2 separate regions of the Homo sapiens genome follow, and region 1 is linked to region 2. The links are contacts of gene promoters, found by promoter capture Hi-C in human tissues and cell types (Jung and others, 2019). All regions are on one chromosome and are shown on one strand. The core of a region is centred on a gene start or on the middle of the fragment in contact, and the rest is flanking DNA. Distances in the headings are between cores, read along the strand shown. Region 1 has its middle 7.9 kb from the start of IGFL3. Region 2 holds the start of DMPK (DM1 protein kinase).

The links. Contacts are between HindIII fragments. The study calls those that stand out against the background at their distance.
Region 1: a contact is called between a fragment that was not itself captured here and the fragment with the promoter of DMPK in region 2, in 1 of the 25 tissues and cell types used here (lymphoblastoid cells).

The regions. Positions count from the first base shown.
Region 1 is chr19:46,114,794-46,118,768 of GRCh38, reverse strand. It overlaps a transcript of IGFL2 not described here. Among named protein-coding and RNA genes, the nearest start is that of IGFL3, 7.9 kb to the left of the region's middle. The HindIII fragment of the contact is 4,320 bases long and covers 485-3,975 here.
Region 2 is chr19:45,780,452-45,784,930 of GRCh38, reverse strand. It overlaps DMPK (DM1 protein kinase), which reads left to right and starts at 2,441. Exons shown (of 15, transcript NM_004409.5): 1 at 2,441-2,738. The coding sequence starts at 2,579. DMWD (DM1 locus, WD repeat containing) reads left to right here. Exons shown (of 5, transcript NM_004943.2): 4 at 216-290; 5 at 641-1,984. The coding sequence ends at 688. The HindIII fragment of the contact is 9,498 bases long and covers 1,175-4,479 here.

The DNA.
Region 1 (3,975 bases), core at 1,395-3,894, 330 kb before region 2:
ACTTCAGCCTTCAGCAGGGAGGCAGTAACTCTCCCAGGGGTGCATGGGAGTGCCTGGTCTCCCCTCTGCCTCCTTGCAGCAGTAAAGTGGCAGCAGCTGTCTGTAGATACCTGATGTCTGGGCTCTCAAAATGGTGCCCATCTGAGGCTGCCCAGGGTTCAGATGCCTGTGGGAGTGTGTGGGGGTTCCCTTTCTGGAGCAACATCTTTGGGCAGCTTCATATGTCAGGCCGGAGGCCCTAATGAGTCCGGGGTTTCTCCCACAGCCAAGATTATAAAAGCCTGTCTAGGAGTGTGGAGCCCAGGGGCTTTCTCTCTTACTGCTTCCCCACACATTCCAGGAGCCTCTCCCAGCTCAGTCAATCCCAGGTGGGCAAGCTGCCTCAAACCCTTTTCTTACTTCTGGTGCTTCCCATCTCTTCTCTGGTGAACCTCAGCATTCTCTCCTAGACCATTTGTTTGAAATGTGAGTATCTACTTGCTATTCTGGTTTTCTCTGTGGGGGAGACAAACATACCTGCATCTATTCAGCCGTTATGATTCATCTCCAAAGTCTATTCCAATTTATAGAAGTTTGAAAGGCTGCCTCTAGACTATCGGTGGTTTAATGTTAAAGACATTTATGAACACTAAACTTCTCTTTAAAATTTTTTATTGTTTTAATTGCCTCCTGTTTACCTTGTTTATAAGAAAAGGATGCCCACCCTAGGGCTGTGGGGATGGCAAAACACAGGACGTTAATTCTGGGTGGATAAAATCAACAGTAGATTATTAGCCCCACGTATGCTCACAGCCTGAGGGAGGACACTGCATGCTAAGTATGGCCACAAAGGTTGCATTTAGGAGCACCTAACAAGCAGGGGCTAAGGAAGGCAGGCTCTGTAGTGTCAAGAGAGTGAGGTGGTCCCTGGTTCCTGCAGGAAGAAGTGCTATCTCCATTCTGGGGCCTGTAGTCCCAAGCAAGATTCATTTTAAAAATGAACAGATGGTAGTCCGGGCGCGGTGGCTCACACCTGTAATCCCACCACTTTGGGAGGCTAAGGTGGGTGGATCACGAGGTCAAGAGATCGAGGCCATCCTGGCCAACATGGTGAAACCCCGTCTCTACTAAAAATACAAAAAAATTAGCCAGGCTTGATGGCACATGCATGTAGTCCCAGCTACTTGAGAGGCTGACGTGGGAGGATCCCTTGGGCCCAGGAGTTTGAGGCTGCAGTGAGCTATGATTATACCACTGCACTTTAGCCTGGGTGACAGCACAAATTCTGTCTCTAAAAAAATCAAGCAAGCAAGCAAACAAACAAACAAAAAACAACAAAAAAGAAGGGACTGGAAACCACCAATTCAATCAGAAAAAAAAATTGACTTTTAAGAGAATTCTTCTTGGCCTGGTGCAATGACTCACACCTGTAATCCTAGCACTTTGAGAGGCAGAAGTAAAATGATCACTTGAGGCCAGGAGTTCAAGACCAGCCTGGGCAACATAGTGACACCTCATACCTACAAAATATCTACAAAATATAAAAATTTAAAAAGAGAGAAATCTTCCTAACTGCAGCCTCAATTAACCTTTATTCTCTAGGTATACTGAAAAACTTACTGAATAGGCTTAGCTCAATTAAAGCTTAAAATTATTTTAAAAATAAATAATAAAGTACCTTACATAATGAGAAAAAAATAGTCAAAATAAAGCTCAAGATTTTAAGGCTTCATTTTAGAATCAAATCCTTGCCTACTTTTACTCCAATCAATTAAGTTTATGCCAAACCAGTATATAAAATTTTTACTAGTTATTATAATTGCCTAATTTAATATAAGATAAACAAGTTAATTAATTTAACTTGTGTAAGTTGTACAATATAAATAATTTAATATAAGTTAAATTCGAGTGTGAAAAGATTTACTGGCTCTATTAAAACTAAAAATAATAAGCAAGGTAATGGGTATGTTAATTAGCTTGATTTAATCTTTCCACAAAGGTACCACTGTAGGTTGGTATGACTTTCCCAGAACTCCGTTACATGAATTAGAACATCACATTGTATCAAATAAATGCACACAATTATAACTTGTCCATTAAAAAAATACTAATTGGCCCGCTTCAGTAGCAAGCACATGTAATCCCCACAACCCAGGAGGCTGAGGTAGGAGGATTCCTTGGGGCCAGAATTTCGAGACTAGCCTGTGCAACAGAGTGAAACCTCATCTGTAAAAATTTAAAAATTGTTCTAATTAGAATAATACTAATCAAAAATTGCTTTAACTAAAGCAAATGCTTTGGAAAGATTCAATATATCTGAATCAGCAAAGAGACATTGTTCTTATTTGCTAGAGGCAAAGCAATGTATTTTTTTAATTACTAAAATCTAGGATTTCCCAGTCAGACTATTAGGTAAATGTCCTTAAACTCACAGCATTTTTACAGAAAACCACAAGTAGATATTGCCAGCAATGCATTATCAACGGTGTTGCTGCCAGAAAGACAACGAGAGCTCTTTTCTGTAAGCTCACACTCACAGAGAAAATTATTTGGTATGTCTTAAAAGACTGGGAAATGAGGAGATATACCTAATGTAAATTACGAGTTAATGGGTGCAGCACACCAACATGGCACATGTATACATATGTAACAAACCTGCATGTTGTGCACATGTACCCTAGAACTTAAAGTATAATAATAAAAAAAAAGATTGGGAAATGAACAATCCAAAAATAGAATTAACAGTCCCACTTATAACATCAACAAAAGGAAAAATGGACCCATCATCAGTCACCAAGACCTGAGAACAGAGAGTGGCAGCCCCTTCACACAGGCGGCAGAGCAAGGAAGCTGTCAGCCGGCGAGCCTCCTGGAGTATACCTGAGATGGGCAGAACTGGGGACATCAGTTCTCTACAGCAGCCCTGCAATGAGGGGCTGGAGTGGTATAGAAAAAATTCCAACGCTTTTTGCTGGTAAGTGGCTCTACTCATTCATTTATCCCTGTCGCTGGTTCCCTTCTTGAAGCTTGAAAATAATCTGAACTTTCCATGTCAAGAGCAGCTGGCCTCCTCCCATACATTAATTTTCTGTATTGGCTAGGTATTGGCTGCAAACACAAGATTAAATTACACAGAGAGTCGGGTAGTGAAACTGCTCCCACTCAGGCTGAGTCACCAGATTCACCCTGAGGTGAATCTGAATCAGGCTGAGGTTTCTGGGGTTGGCTGTTAGCTTGGGTCTGCATAGCTACCTCTCAGAGAACACACTGGCCACAGCTCCCAAGCTGTAGCTGTTTCTGCCTCCCCTGACCCAGAACTGCTACTTCCCTCAACATTTCCAGTGATTCGCTGCATTTCATTTTGTCTTGTGTTTTCTACTGACGCCGCCTTATTTTTGTTTTATGTGCCTTACCTGATATTTTGGGGGTTATTCACATTTTTAAAATGTATTTTCATTTTCCCTGTAAGAGAGAGCCTGTGTTTCTGGCTTGCAAACCAGGCTGGAGATGGCACCTTCCCCAGAGCTCAGGAATTCTGGGTGAGGATTGAGTGTGGGGAATGTCATGAGATTTAGCCTGCTCCTGTAGGCAAAAGGACCTTTTGAAACACACAAGTGGGGATAGTTAGGTATTTCATACACATAACATAGTTGTGATACGAAAACCAGAGAAAGATAATCACCAAATATTCTAGGACACTGGTCCTCAATATTAGCATGCACAAGAGTCACTAGGGCTATGGATGAACATAGGTGTGATACAAATGCCAGAGAAAGATAATCACCAAATATTCTAGGACACTGGTCCTCAATATTAGTATGCATGAGAGCCACTAGGGCTATGGATGAAAATGCAAATTTCTGGGCCTTACTCCCAGAGATTCTGATTCTGTAAACCTGTGGGGAGTCCAGGAAACTGCATTTTCAAAAAGCACCTGTATTAGTCAATTTTCACACTGCTATGAAGAGCTGCCTGAGACTGGGTAATTTATAAAGA
Region 2 (4,479 bases), core at 1,192-3,691:
CGGAGCTCGTCTTGGGTGTCTCAGCTTCTTAGGGCTTGGACTCAGTTGCCCAGGGTCCTGGAGGCCGTGGCTTGGTTCCTCAGATCCTCAGTTTTGGAATCGTAGAGTCCTGAGTCCCTAGAACTTGAGAGCACAGTCTGAGTGACTCAGAGGCAAGAGTGGTGGGATTTGGGGAGTCTGGTTGAGTCCTAAAAGAGACCCCTCTGTCTCCGTAGTTCACAGACGAGGAGACCGAGGCCCAGACAGGGGAAGGAAGTTGGCCCAGGTCACCCAGCAAGTCAGTGGTAGAGGTAGGACTGTCCCTGAGTTCTTTCCCCAGCACCTCAGGGTCCCTCCCAAGTTAGAAGGGAGCTCCAGTTTCCCCCTCCCCTCCCACCCTTACCCTTACCCCATGGTCTCACTCAGGATCCGCCAAGGACTTTGATTATTGCGTGAAAGTGCTGACTGCCAGGACAGGAAGCTAGCTAAGATGCAAGTTCCCAGCCTAGAGCAGTGGCCTCTGGGGGGTCTAGGGCGGACCCAAGGGCAAGGCCAGGGTGGCAGCAGCTTTGGGGACTCTGGGCTGGCTCCCTCCCCTTGACACTGGCTGAAGCCCAGGTGGTCTCTAACCCCTCCCATCTCTCCCTCTCATCTTCCCCAGGGCATCTCCTCCCAACCAGGCAACTCCCCGAGTGGCACAGTGGTGTGAAGCCATGGATATCGGGCCCCCCCAACCCCATGCCCCCAGCCTCCTAGCCATAACCCTCCCTGCTGACCTCACAGATCAACGTATTAACAAGACTAACCATGATGGATGGACTGCTCCAGTCCCCCCACCTGCACAAAATTTGGGGGCCCCCCAGACTGGCCCGGACACGGGCGATGTAATAGCCCTTGTGGCCTCAGCCTTGTCCCCCACCCACTGCCAAGTACAATGACCTCTTCCTCTGAAACATCAGTGTTACCCTCATCCCTGTCCCCAGCATGTGACTGGTCACTCCTGGGGAGAGACTCCCCGCCCCTGCCACAAGAGCCCCAGGTCTGCAGTGTGCCCCTCAGTTGAGTGGGCAGGGCCGGGGGTGGTCCAGCCCTCGCCCGGCCCCCACCCCAGCTGCCCTTGCTATTGTCTGTGCTTTTGAAGAGTGTTAAATTATGGAAGCCCCTCAGGTTCCTCCCTGTCCCGCAGGACCTCTTATTTATACTAAAGTTCCCTGTTTTCTCAGCGGGTCTGTCCCCTTCGGAGGAGATGATGTAGAGGACCTGTGTGTGTACTCTGTGGTTCTAGGCAGTCCGCTTTCCCCAGAGGAGGAGTGCAGGCCTGCTCCCAGCCCAGCGCCTCCCACCCCTTTTCATAGCAGGAAAAGCCGGAGCCCAGGGAGGGAACGGACCTGCGAGTCACACAACTGGTGACCCACACCAGCGGCTGGAGCAGGACCCTCTTGGGGAGAAGAGCATCCTGCCCGCAGCCAGGGCCCCTCATCAAAGTCCTCGGTGTTTTTTAAATTATCAGAACTGCCCAGGACCACGTTTCCCAGGCCCTGCCCAGCTGGGACTCCTCGGTCCTTGCCTCCTAGTTTCTCAGGCCTGGCCCTCTCAAGGCCCAGGCACCCCAGGCCGGTTGGAGGCCCCGACTTCCACTCTGGAGAACCGTCCACCCTGGAAAGAAGAGCTCAGATTCCTCTTGGCTCTCGGAGCCGCAGGGAGTGTGTCTTCCCGCGCCACCCTCCACCCCCCGAAATGTTTCTGTTTCTAATCCCAGCCTGGGCAGGAATGTGGCTCCCCGGCCAGGGGCCAAGGAGCTATTTTGGGGTCTCGTTTGCCCAGGGAGGGCTTGGCTCCACCACTTTCCTCCCCCAGCCTTTGGGCAGCAGGTCACCCCTGTTCAGGCTCTGAGGGTGCCCCCTCCTGGTCCTGTCCTCACCACCCCTTCCCCACCTCCTGGGAAAAAAAAAAAAAAAAAAAAAAAAAGCTGGTATAAAGCAGAGAGCCTGAGGGCTAAATTTAACTGTCCGAGTCGGAATCCATCTCTGAGTCACCCAAGAAGCTGCCCTGGCCTCCCGTCCCCTTCCCAGGCCTCAACCCCTTTCTCCCACCCAGCCCCAACCCCCAGCCCTCACCCCCTAGCCCCCAGTTCTGGAGCTTGTCGGGAGCAAGGGGGTGGTTGCTACTGGGTCACTCAGCCTCAATTGGCCCTGTTTCAGCAATGGGCAGGTTCTTCTTGAAATTCATCACACCTGTGGCTTCCTCTGTGCTCTACCTTTTTATTGGGGTGACAGTGTGACAGCTGAGATTCTCCATGCATTCCCCCTACTCTAGCACTGAAGGGTTCTGAAGGGCCCTGGAAGGAGGGAGCTTGGGGGGCTGGCTTGTGAGGGGTTAAGGCTGGGAGGCGGGAGGGGGGCTGGACCAAGGGGTGGGGAGAAGGGGAGGAGGCCTCGGCCGGCCGCAGAGAGAAGTGGCCAGAGAGGCCCAGGGGACAGCCAGGGACAGGCAGACATGCAGCCAGGGCTCCAGGGCCTGGACAGGGGCTGCCAGGCCCTGTGACAGGAGGACCCCGAGCCCCCGGCCCGGGGAGGGGCCATGGTGCTGCCTGTCCAACATGTCAGCCGAGGTGCGGCTGAGGCGGCTCCAGCAGCTGGTGTTGGACCCGGGCTTCCTGGGGCTGGAGCCCCTGCTCGACCTTCTCCTGGGCGTCCACCAGGAGCTGGGCGCCTCCGAACTGGCCCAGGACAAGTACGTGGCCGACTTCTTGCAGTGGGGTGAGTGCCTACCCTCGGGGCTCCTGCAGATGGGGTGGGGGTGGGGCAGGAGACAGGTCTGGGCACAGAGGCCTGGCTGTTGGGGGGGCAGGATGGCAGGATGGGCATGGGGAGATCCTCCCATCCTGGGGCTCAGAGTGTGGACCTGGGCCCTGGGGCAACATTTCTCTGTCCTATGCCACCACTCTGGAGGGGCAGAGTAAGGTCAGCAGAGGCTAGGGTGGCTGTGACTCAGAGCCATGGCTTAGGAGTCACAGCAGGCTAGGCTGCCAACAGCCTCCCATGGCCTCTCTGCACCCCGCCTCAGGGTCAGGGTCAGGGTCATGCTGGGAGCTCCCTCTCCTAGGACCCTCCCCCCAAAAGTGGGCTCTATGGCCCTCTCCCCTGGTTTCCTGTGGCCTGGGGCAAGCCAGGAGGGCCAGCATGGGGCAGCTGCCAGGGGCGCAGCCGACAGGCAGGTGTTCGGCGCCAGCCTCTCCAGCTGCCCCAACAGGTGCCCAGGCACTGGGAGGGCGGTGACTCACGCGGGCCCTGTGGGAGAACCAGCTTTGCAGACAGGCGCCACCAGTGCCCCCTCCTCTGCGATCCAGGAGGGACAACTTTGGGTTCTTCTGGGTGTGTCTCCTTCTTTTGTAGGTTCTGCACCCACCCCCACCCCCAGCCCCAAAGTCTCGGTTCCTATGAGCCGTGTGGGTCAGCCACCATTCCCGCCACCCCGGGTCCCTGCGTCCTTTAGTTCTCCTGGCCCAGGGCCTCCAACCTTCCAGCTGTCCCACAAAACCCCTTCTTGCAAGGGCTTTCCAGGGCCTGGGGCCAGGGCTGGAAGGAGGATGCTTCCGCTTCTGCCAGCTGCCTTGTCTGCCCACCTCCTCCCCAAGCCCAGGACTCGGGCTCACTGGTCACTGGTTTCTTTCATTCCCAGCACCCTGCCCCTCTGGCCCTCATATGTCTGGCCCTCAGTGACTGGTGTTTGGTTTTTGGCCTGTGTGTAACAAACTGTGTGTGACACTTGTTTCCTGTTTCTCCGCCTTCCCCTGCTTCCTCTTGTGTCCATCTCTTTCTGACCCAGGCCTGGTTCCTTTCCCTCCTCCTCCCATTTCACAGATGGGAAGGTGGAGGCCAAGAAGGGCCAGGCCATTCAGCCTCTGGAAAAACCTTCTCCCAACCTCCCACAGCCCCTAATGACTCTCCTGGCCTCCCTTTAGTAGAGGATGAAGTTGGGTTGGCAGGGTAAACTGAGACCGGGTGGGGTAGGGGTCTGGCGCTCCCGGGAGGAGCACTCCTTTTGTGGCCCGAGCTGCATCTCGCGGCCCCTCCCCTGCCAGGCCTGGGGCGGGGGAGGGGGCCAGGGTTCCTGCTGCCTTAAAAGGGCTCAATGTCTTGGCTCTCTCCTCCCTCCCCCGTCCTCAGCCCTGGCTGGTTCGTCCCTGCTGGCCCACTCTCCCGGAACCCCCCGGAACCCCTCTCTTTCCTCCAGAACCCACTGTCTCCTCTCCTTCCCTCCCCTCCCATACCCATCCCTCTCTCCATCCTGCCTCCACTTCTTCCACCCCCGGGAGTCCAGGCCTCCCTGTCCCCACAGTCCCTGAGCCACAAGCCTCCACCCCAGCTGGTCCCCCACCCAGGCTGCCCAGTTTAACATTCCTAGTCATAGGACCTTGACTTCTGAGAGGCCTGATTGTCATCTGTAAATAAGGGGTAGGACTAAAGCACTCCTCCTGGAGGACTGAGAGATGGGCTG